2 separate regions of the Homo sapiens genome follow, and region 2 is linked to region 1. Evidence: promoter capture Hi-C in human tissues and cell types (Jung and others, 2019). All regions are on one chromosome and are shown on one strand. Each heading gives the region's core, a stretch centred on a gene start or on the middle of the fragment in contact. The rest is flanking DNA. Distances are from core to core; before and after follow the strand shown. Region 1 holds the start of DLK1 (delta like non-canonical Notch ligand 1). Region 2 has its middle 130 kb from the start of LINC02285.

What was found. Contacts are between HindIII fragments. The study calls those that stand out against the background at their distance.
Region 2: a contact is called between a fragment that was not itself captured here and the fragment with the promoter of DLK1 in region 1, in 1 of the 25 tissues and cell types used here (stomach).

What each region holds. Positions count from the first base shown.
Region 1 is chr14:100,724,551-100,729,790 of GRCh38, forward strand. DLK1 (delta like non-canonical Notch ligand 1) reads left to right here and starts at 2,342. Exons shown (of 5, transcript NM_003836.7): 1 at 2,342-2,585; 2 at 3,846-3,909; 3 at 4,386-4,516. The coding sequence starts at 2,519. The HindIII fragment of the contact is 15,317 bases long and covers 1-5,240 here.
Region 2 is chr14:101,245,996-101,251,235 of GRCh38, forward strand. No RefSeq gene overlaps it. Among named protein-coding and RNA genes, the nearest start is that of LINC02285, 130 kb to the left of the region's middle. The HindIII fragment of the contact is 4,197 bases long and covers 463-4,659 here.

The DNA of each region.
Region 1 (5,240 bases), core at 1,092-3,591:
ACTGGGGAGGGCTGTGGTGGGGCTGGGGGCGGGGGTGGGAAGGGGGAAGAACCTGGATGGGGAAGGGAGGAGTCTAGGTATGTGTGTGGGTGGGGACACTGGGGCCCCCTAAGTGCTCCATGCAGTCCAGGGAGTCTCCTCTCTGCGGGACTTTGGCAAGAGCCTGGGAGGCCCTTGCCCCAGGGCTACCCAGCCCTGAGATCCTCCACCCCTCCTTGGCTTCTGGCTGAGAACTCAGCTCTTCCAGGTCTGCCTGCTGTTGGGATAATTTTGGAGGCTGAAGTCAGGGGCCTCGAAGGGAGGGAAGAGAGGAACCCTGGTCAGGAAGACCTTGGCGATCACCATGCAGTGGACATTGGCACCCAGGGTTGGGCCTGTCAGCCAGACACTCTCGTTCTAGGCCAAGGGCCTTGGGCAAAGGACCTTCCATCACTGAAGTTGGTTTCTTGACTTGAGGAAAGAGTCCACGGAAGAAAGTAGGGTCACAGGAATGCAAGGGCATGTGGCAGGCACACAGTGGGCACCCCAACTGCTCCCTACAGCCTGTCCCCAAAGCCGTTCCCAGCAGCCCCTACCTATCTGGGCATTCTGCAGATAACATCAGGGAAGGGATATCTTCCACCAGGGGCTGGGAGTTTCCCTCCAGCCTCCTTGGAGCCAGCCCAGAGCAGCTCTGGTCTCTGTCCATCCCTGTACCCATCCCGAGTGCCTTACTGGAGCACTGACTTAGGGGTGGTGGGCCTGGGGATGCCCATGGGCCTGCCTTCCCACATCTATGGCTAAGATGGGAAATCTGTGCTCAGACCTGCCAGGGCTGGACTAGAGGGCCAGGAGGTCAAAGCATCCAGCCTCCAGGTTCACAGTGGTGAGATCACACCCCCCTGCAGCACTGTGAAGAAGGGGAGGCCGCGAGCTGGGTGGGCACCCACTCCCTGCATCTAGGATATGTATGCAAATTAATATATGCAAATTAAGTATCCTAAACGACCCACCCAAAGATTGGGACGCCTGGGACCCTTCCCCCAGGAGGTGAAATATCTTTAATCCCCTCCTACCCCTCTCCCTCCCTATCTTTCTGAGCCTCCCCCATCCAGACTGGGTGCAGGGGTGCAGAGCTTTCCTCTCCAGCAGGGCTCTAAGCCTAAGCCGGGGGCAATGGGGAGGAGGGGTGTCTGAGGAGCACTCCCTCTCCCTGGGAGCTCTGCAGAGGAAGAGGGTCTCTGGCAATCAGCATCCTCTACCTCCACCTCTCCAGCGGGCGACCCCTCAGAGAAGGTCTCCCAGTGAGTCTGGAATACGTGCCGAGTGCCTGGAGTGCTATTGTGTGTATGTGAGAGCACATTGGTGAGGCTGCCCATGCATGCCACTGTGGACAAAGACAGATGCGATCGTGTGTGTGTGGGGACTGCGTATATGTTTTTGTCAGTGTGTGTGACCACGAGTCAGCTGGGTATGTGTGCTTGTGGGTATCAGGTGCATGGCTGTGCGTACATGTGTGCGTAAGAGTCGGTGCATTTGTGTTTCAGCGCGGCTAAGGCCCTGACTGAGATGCTGTGTGTGCGGGGGTGGGTGTGACTGAATGCGGGCACGGGTGTCCGTCTGTTTATACGTGTGTTTGCGTGTTTGGGTGTGCAGGTGGCTCTGCGTAAGCGTCTGTGTGCAGGGGGTCGGCACATGGGGGAGGATGCCCATGGTTGGGTAACCGCAGGTCCGCTTGACCCTCTGCCACCTAGGACTGTGTCTATACGGCGTCTGGGCTACAGTGTGTTTGAGTTGCCGTGTGCGTTTCCGTTGCGGGGTGTGGGTTGCCACGGGGCAACTGCATTTTTCTGCGTCTTCATGGCCAGGGGTACAGGGGGCGTCGGGCTTTTCCTGGGGGTTTTTCTGTGTGCGTGTGTAATTATGTGCTTAGTTCACATCTTCATAGTGCGCCTTTGTGTTTTCCTGGGTATCTAACCATTGCACGTGTGCCCGGGACTTCAGCGATAAGTGTTTCGGTGTTCCTGCGTGCGGATTTGTGCTCTCCGGGGAGGTCTGCGGCCCAGGTTCGATTCCTGCGACTTGTCCTAGGCAGGCCTGTATGTGCGCGGCGGCCGCGTGCTGTACAGTGTGAGGGAACGTGTACCAAACGCTCGCGGGATACCTGTGCCCGTCTAGCCAAGAGTGCACCCGTGTGCGCGAGCGGGCTTCTGGGACGCCGCCGTGGTCGGGGGCGGCCCTGCGAGGGGAGGGGGTCACAGGGACTGGCCGGCGCCGGCCCCGTGCGCACGGAGGCGGGGGCGGGGGGCGGGGGCCGCGAGGGGGGAGGCGGTACGAAAAGGGCGGCGCGCGCGGCGGCGGCGGCAGCTCCCCGGCAGCGGCGGTGGAGAGCGCAGCGCGCAGCCCGGTGCAGCCCTGGCTTTCCCCTCGCTGCGCGCCCGCGCCCCCTTTCGCGTCCGCAACCAGAAGCCCAGTGCGGCGCCAGGAGCCGGACCCGCGCCCGCACCGCTCCCGGGACCGCGACCCCGGCCGCCCAGAGATGACCGCGACCGAAGCCCTCCTGCGCGTCCTCTTGCTCCTGCTGGCTTTCGGCCACAGCACCTATGGTGAGTTCCCCGGCGGCCCGGCTCGCGCCCCCTCTGGGGAAGCCTGCGACTCCCCGCCGGCCGCCCGGTGCCCCGCACGCCCCGTCTCGTGAGCCCCAACTCCGCCCGTCCCGCCTAGCCCTAAGCCCCGCGCTGTGCCTGTCTCGCCCTACCCACCACGCTCGCATGCCAAGGCCCGTCCCAGGGGTCCCAGGGCGCAGGGGATGTGTGAGACCCCCAGCCCCTTCCCGCCCTGCAGAAGTGGCGCCAGAGGGGTGTCGGTGCGCTGAGCAAGGAGGTATGGAAAAATGGGGTGCTGTTGTGGAGTCTTCTATGAAAATACTCTGGGGTGCAACTTTGGGGTGTCCCTGTGTGAGCGTTCTGGAACAGGTCTCGGGGCGGGAGTGGGGGACGACTTTGCCGTCTTAGCCCCCAATTCCCAGAGAAGCCCAGCCTGAGCCCTTCCTGCGTGGCGCGTTTCTGTAGGTGAGGGGCTGCGACACTTCTGTCTGCAGCGGCCATCTGTCTCTGACAGCGAGAGAGTTGCCCCCTTCCTGCAGCGCCCCCCCACTCATTGCACCAGTGGTTGTAAGGGGGCTGTCTAGAAAGCTGGGGAGCTGGTTGAGTAAATGCACACAGTAGGTGCCTGTTAAAGTGTCAGAATCTCTAAGCAGTGTTGTTGCAACCTCAGCCCGCTAAGCAAAACCCTGTGTCGTCATCGTTTTTTTAATGCGAAGAGTCTGGGGTAGGGGAAAGAGGGAAGATTTGACCTGGGTGCCCGGCTTAATAGGGATGAACCTTAAAAAGAATGCAGACGCCTTACTGGGGCGCCCACCAGGTGAACCTGTCTGGGCTTTCCCGGAGTTGAACACCTCAAAATCTGCTCCTCTTTTCAGCTCAGGTTGCAAAAGTGACGGTCAGGCTGCATGCCCAGGGCTCAACATATTTCCCTCCACGGTCCCCGTCCCCGCTGTTAGGAGGACTTGAGGTGTCGTATTTGCTTTTGGGAGTCCGAGGAGAAGGTGTTTCTCCTGCTCCTAAGAACGAGGGAGAGTGTACTGTGGTCATTTCATTGCTGGGAACGTGGCAGAGATGTTTTTCCTGAGTGCACTGAGCCCCATCCATGCTCGGATAGGAAGTGCCTACTGTGTGCCAGGCTGGTAGGACCCAAGAGGGCTGTTGGTGCCCTCGAGGGCAGTGGTGGGCTGTGTGGGCGAAGACAGCCTTTGCCTTGGCCTGGGGCCTGGTGGGGTGAATTGTATAACCTTTCTTGTACCTCAGGGGCTGAATGCTTCCCGGCCTGCAACCCCCAAAATGGATTCTGCGAGGATGACAATGTTTGCAGGTAATAGAGTGGCTCCTCAGAGGCAGCTTGTAGGGGCCACGCAGAAGCCTGGGGAGTCGTGAAGTCAGGCAGAAAAAAATAGGGGGCTTGGCCACTACGCTGCAGCAAACAGCTTCCGGGCCCCTGCAGAAAACTGGTGGGGCGAGCTGGGGAGATGGGGGGGGCGGGGGGGGGGCAGCCACAGCTCCTGTCTGCGTTCTCAGAGGTGGGGGGGCAGGTGGGACCACTGCAGGCCACTGCGGCAAAACGCAGCACTCCCCCGGGATCTCGGGGCCCCTCCAAGTCGGCCCCCTCAGCTTGGCATGTTTTCTCTTTAAGTTTTCCCATTCAGGTGGCTGGTGTTTACTTCCCAGGACCACCGGCTGCCACTGTGCAAAGACCCCCAAGGGTCCTTGGTTCCACAGAAAGTAGCCTGAGCTGCCTCTCTACCCCTGCCCTCTTCATATGTCCCCACCTTTCTCCCCCACCCATTGCAGGTGCCAGCCTGGCTGGCAGGGTCCCCTTTGTGACCAGTGCGTGACCTCTCCCGGCTGCCTTCACGGACTCTGTGGAGAACCCGGGCAGTGCATTTGCACCGACGGCTGGGACGGGGAGCTCTGTGATAGAGGTTGGCACTCGCCTTTGTTCACCTCAGCTCTGCGTCCTTACCTGCCTGCCCTAGCCCCTACCACCTCCTCCCAGTCTCCTGTTGCTGGTGTTCCTCACTTCCTCATTCCTGCACACTCCGTGCCCTGTATTCTAAAGATCTGTTTATAAATTTCCTGTGGGTACCGAATGCCTCCTCAGAGGTAGGGACTTTATTTTGCTCTTCTCTGCGCCATCAGCACCCAGCACCTAGAGGGAACATGGCGTGGGGGCCAGGGAGCTGCCTGTTGAATAAAGAGTCACAAAATACACATACAGCTGGGCCGGTGGGACCACAGACCCCAGGCTGCCTGTCCAGGTCATGGAAGCCCAGTGATGGACAGGGCTCTGGGGATCTCAGAGCTAAGACTCCCTAGAAAAGCACACGCAAGACTGTAAAGAGGCTGCAAACAAACAAACGGGGTGGGGGGTGGCCAGCACTGCTCAGTGGTTGAGGGGCAGGTGCTGAGTCAGGGCCAGGAGGACAGGGCTGGGGGGCCTGGACTGAGTGGGTCAGGTGTAGGGGGAGGCTGCAGTTGGGAAAAGCTGAGAAAGGGTTAAAGTGAAGATGGGTGTTATCTGTTGATTTCATTAATTTATGCAATCTTTGCCTCCATTACCCCAAGCAATTGAGAGTTGGCTGTCACTGCATTTTCAGGCTGCGAAATGTTCGTCTAAGCCCATTTTCATTTGGCAAAACCAGCCCT
Region 2 (5,240 bases), core at 1,311-3,810, 520 kb after region 1:
TAGGATGCGAGGTTTAGACAGGATGCGTCGTTTAGACAGAATGCGAGGTTTAGATAGAATGCGAGGTTTTGGTAGGATGCGAGGTTTAGATAGGATGCGAGGTTTAGATAGGATGCGAGGTTTAGGTAGGATGCGAGGTTTTGGTAGGATGCGTGGTTTAGATAGGATGCCTGGTTTAGATAGGATGCGAGGTTTAGATAGGATGCGTGGTTTAGATAGAATGCGAGGTTTAGGTAGGATGCGTGGTTTAGATAGGATGCGAGGTTTAGATAGGATGCGAGGTTTAGACAGGATGCGTCGTTTAGACAGAATGCGAGGTTTAGATAGAATGCGAGGTTTTGGTAGGATGCGAGGTTTAGATAGGATGCGAGGTTTAGATAGGATGCGAGGTTTAGATAGGATGCGTTGTTTAGGTAGGATGCGTCGTTTAGATAGGATGCGAGGTTTAGATAGGATGCCTGGTTTAGATAGGATGCGAGGTTTAGACAGGATGGGAGGTTTAGATAGGATTCGAGGTTTAGACAGGATGCGTCGTTTAGACAGAATGCGAGGTTTAGATAGAATGCGAGGTTTTGGTAGGATGCGTGGTTTAGATAGGATGCGAGGTTTAGATAGGATGCGAGGTTTAGACAGGATGGGAGGTTTAGATAGGATGCGTTGTTTAGGTAGGATGTGTGGTTTAGATAGGATGCGAGGTTTAGATAGGATGCGAGGTTTAGATAAACGATGCGTGGTTTAGATAGGATGCGAGGTTTAGATAGGATGCGAGGTTTAGATAGGACGTGAGGTTTGTTTTATGCCTGTGGCGTCCAATGCCCCCCACACCACTTGTAGAACTCCTCCCGTAGTTTTCATGCCTTCATCTTCTGCATCTTCCCACTCTAGGCTCAGAGACAGACCTGCATCTGTTCCCCAGAGCCCCCAGCTTTTCGCTCAGCCTGCCTCCTCAACTCCCACATGTCTCAGGAAGACACCACTGCCTCACAGGTAGCCCTCCATTCCTGGAGGCACCGTAGGCCCTTCACAAGTTGCTCTTCGTCCACTTGGTGCACCTTGAGGAGAGGACAAGGCTGTGTCTAGGAGTGCCATCCAGCCGCCCCTGCCCCTCATCCTCTGAGCCCACATCCTCAGACTCCATCTCTGACCCCAGCTTCCCATCCTCCCAGCTCTCTCACTGCAAACCTCCAGCCTCCGCAGGACCCTCCTTGGTGAACCCCTCTCCCCAGCCCCCGGCACCCCAAGGCCTTTCCTCTCCACTTCGTCCTGTGGATCCAATCATCCCTGTGGAAGGACGATGGGAAAATCTGCCTCTTGGGGCCTCAGATTTCCAGATCTAAGTTCCAGCTGCCAAGAGGACACAACACAGGGTTCTCAGAGCCGCCGCACCCTAATTTCATCTCCCCGCACTGCCCCCACCCCACAAACCCCCGGGAGCTCCATATGGTGAACGGCATGTCAGGGACGCTGCCTCCCAAGCAGCACCCTCCGGATGTCTCTGCTCCTGCCCTATGGACGGTGAGTCCATCCCAGGCGTGCTTCGAGTCCTCCACAGTCTCCCCCAACTCTACCTACTGCCCTGCATCGCTCTGTGCCCCTCTCCAGGCCTCAGCCTGTCCTGGACCTTCTGGTTCTGATGACCCTCGGCCTGCTGCCTTCCAGCCCATGCCTTGCACTGCAGCCAGAGTGCACTCCAGGTCTCCTCTCCTGCAATGAGGGTCCACCCCAGCGCCAAGTCCCAGACCCCACCTCCCACCACGCGATGCCCTGGGGGACTCGGCCTCCGCCCACCTCCCCAGCCGCCCCTCCCTCCAGTGTGTGTCCTTGCTTGCACCTGTGCCTCTCCTTTCTGGGACTCTACCCATTCCACCACCTCTTCCATTGGTCAGTCCTTATGCAGTCTCCAGGTCTCTGCTTTGAATTACATTTTCTCTGAAGCTTCTGCTCAGTGACCAGGTGTCCTGTGTCCCCACCAGGAACTGTTTCTTAACGTCTGTCTCAGGAGAAGGCTGTCAGATACATGAGGACTGGTCTCCTCCCTCTCCAGGCCTCAATTTCCCCCTCTGCTCCTCGAGGTCGGGGTCTGAGTTCTATCACACTCTGTATCTTGGTGGGTCTCAGAACCTGGTGCGGGGGTCGGGGGGTGTTGGGGAAACCTATGTTAAATGAGAGAAGATGGATAGAGAGAAAAACTCGAGACCAGAATAACGGGAGAGGGTGCAAACACAAGACAATTCCACTCAAACAGAGCCCAGCTGGAATCCTGGAGGAACCCTGGGTTCACAGGGAGGGGACAAACTAGATGGGATCCACAGCACACCCCGGGCACCCCAGATGAGGGCAAACAGGCCTCTCAGGGCCAGGAGGGATGATTCCTCTGGAGACTTCCAAGCCATGGCCCTCCCCTTCTCCCCGGGGCCAGGCACTGCTTGGGCAGGTGGCAAGGAGGTTTCCCTGTGCTCCCAGAACCTGACACAGGCCTGGCCCACGGGGAACCGTCAGGTGTAAGGAAGGGGCACTGCCCAATTGTAGAGGACAAGGGACAGGAGCAAGGCCTGCACAGAGCTGCATGGGGCTACAAATGGTCCCCTGGAAAGACGGGAGGCACTGGACTAGCAGGGGCGGCCTACGCAGGCGTTGTCATGGCCCATCTGGTGGTCCCTGGTCGGAGAAGCTGGGAAAGAGCAGCCCCTCCAGAAGGGCTTTTTTGACCTAAGGTGACATCAGTCGGCACCCTACAGATTCCCCCACTACCATCCTTCCCACCTCCAACAACCAACATCCAGCAGAAAACATCTGCCCAGACTTCTTAAGAGGGATGGAGACGAGCCATCTGTGGTAGACCACCACTCTCTGAGCTGGTCGTGTTCTCAAAATTGCCCTATCTCTAATGCTTGCCAGAGACAGTTACGGGGCCAGCCGCCCTGGGGTGGCTGTAAGCGGGAATGGCTGGGGCCTAAAACCCAGTAGCAGGAGCCCCGAGACCAGGCCACAGCAGCCAGGTGCCTGGGGAGGTGAGACAGCAACCCTGCCTGCCACGCCCTCCCCACGGGCTGCATGGGGAGCACATCCTCTGCCTCTTCTGGCACAGGGCGGTGGCTCCTGGTGAATTTCAGGGTTAGCATGGGCATAACATGCCACATGTGTGTACGTGGGTTTGGAGGTGAGGAGGGGGATTCCACCCCAGGGAACCACTGACCATCCATCTCTGTCCTGGTCAACAGGAAGGAGGCTGTTTGGGGGAGCTTCCCCGGGGGCTGTGGCCCTCACTTCCAGAACCGTGCCATGGCAGGGCTCTCCCAGGATGCAGGTGCCATGAGGGTCTCGATCCTCCTTTTAGAGAAGGGAAGGTGGGTGAGGCCAAGATCAGGAGAACATTGTTAGAACTGTCTGGTGTTGGGCGGAGGGTGGTAACCGTGGGCCCTTCACTGTCCTCTGTTCTGTGATCTGCTTTCGGAGGGCAGGACCAGCCATGTGATTCGTGGGGCTCTGTGCAAAATGGGAATGTGGGCTCCTTATCAGGAACTTCAAGATAGAGACAGCAGAACATCCAACCCCAAGAGCCGGGCCCTGTTGCACATCCAGGAAGCCGGCTCAGCTTGGGGGCCCCAAATATAAACTTGCCTCCCTGCCCAAAGAGATGGATGCCAGTTTACAAAAGTGGCCTCCTTTTGCTGTTGTATAAATTCACACATCACCCAAATGTTCTTCATCTAGAACCACCTCCTCCTGCCGACTTCAACTTGTGGGGTGCATTGAGCAGTGGATCTCCGCTCAGGGGCAATGTCAAGGGTTCTGGTCTCTCATCTCTCTCCTTTATAAAGTAGGGGTGCTGCACTCAACCAGGGCTGCTCCGCTCTGTGTGGACCAGGGCGGGGTCTGAGTCAGCATCACCCTGCCCGGTTCTGAGGGCAGGGCCTGGGGAGACCACGAGAGCCCACCCCGCCCTGACGCTGTCCTCCCATCCTTCTGGCCCTAACATTGAGTTCTGTTTCTCTTCCCTGGCATGGTGTTTTTAACAAGAATCCCACATCTTTGGACCAAACCCGGCTGTTACCCTGAAGGCCACCAATAAATTTCTTAGGCAAATAAAATTGACTGAAAATTAGCATAAGAAGTCTTAAATTAACAGGATGTAATTTTATGAGTATTTCACAAACTAGTCAAAGATGTATGTCAGCCCGGGGTGAGTCAACACTTTCAAGTGTCTTTCATTATATAATGCTGCTAATTTTTTTCAAATGTAAGCAATGTGCTTTCTTCCTAAACATCGTGTTCTTTGTTCTGCAATTTGGAAAAATAAATTCCCTTTAAAGCACTGCTTTGCTCAACCACAAAACAAGGTAGGGAGGCCAGATCAGAGGTGCCCTGGCCCCCCTCTGTCTAGATAGCCCCCAGCCACACAGTGGAGGCGCTTGCTTCCTGCAGAGGAGACTCCACACTCAGGGTCATGGGAGCTGGCACTGGAAAGCTTCCAGACGGAGGCTGCGCGCAAGGTGCTGACTCCTACGGTGACGGGCGTTAGCTGGGAAAAGGCGAGCACTCCCGCCTTCTGTCTGCAATGCAAGGCAGCACGCAGGATTCCCAGGGTCTCAGCCACAGGTGCAGGGCAGTGCATGTTCCACATCTGCTGAGCTCCTGCAGGCCCCAAGCTCTGTGCTAGGTGCTGGGGGTGCAGAGGCAGGTAAACCCCGGCCCCACCCCCAAGAGCTCACAGTCTAGGTTAGGAGACGAGCAGCTGGTAGCTGCCACATGTGATCAGGGTGGACAAGGGGGCCTGCCTGGACCACCTTGGAGCACACGAAGGAGGCCACTTCCAAGCCCACGGCCTGAGAAGGTTGCAGATGGGGCAAGCTTGAAGGACGTCTTAGAGCATGAGCCAGCACTCACTGGGGATGGAGGAGGTATGATGGAGTTGAGGGGACAAGGACCCTGCAAACAGAGCGGACCCCGGTTCACACCGATGCTTACCCTGAGCATCCCCCATGTACCAGGAAGACATGCGGTGGCAGCGTCCTTGGGCAGTGGCTGTCCTAGGTGCCCGGGTTACTGAGTGACACTCACGAAAGTGTGCTGGAAGATTCTGACTCAGCTCTGCAATGCCATATTTAGCTTGCCAAGGATGCGGGCTGGTGTGTGAAGTCTAGAGGTCAAAGGTGGTCCAAGGAGGAGACCCTCAGACGGTGGTGGGGGCTTGGGACCAGATGAAGTTCCCCAGGGCGATGCAGAGATGCAGGAAGAGC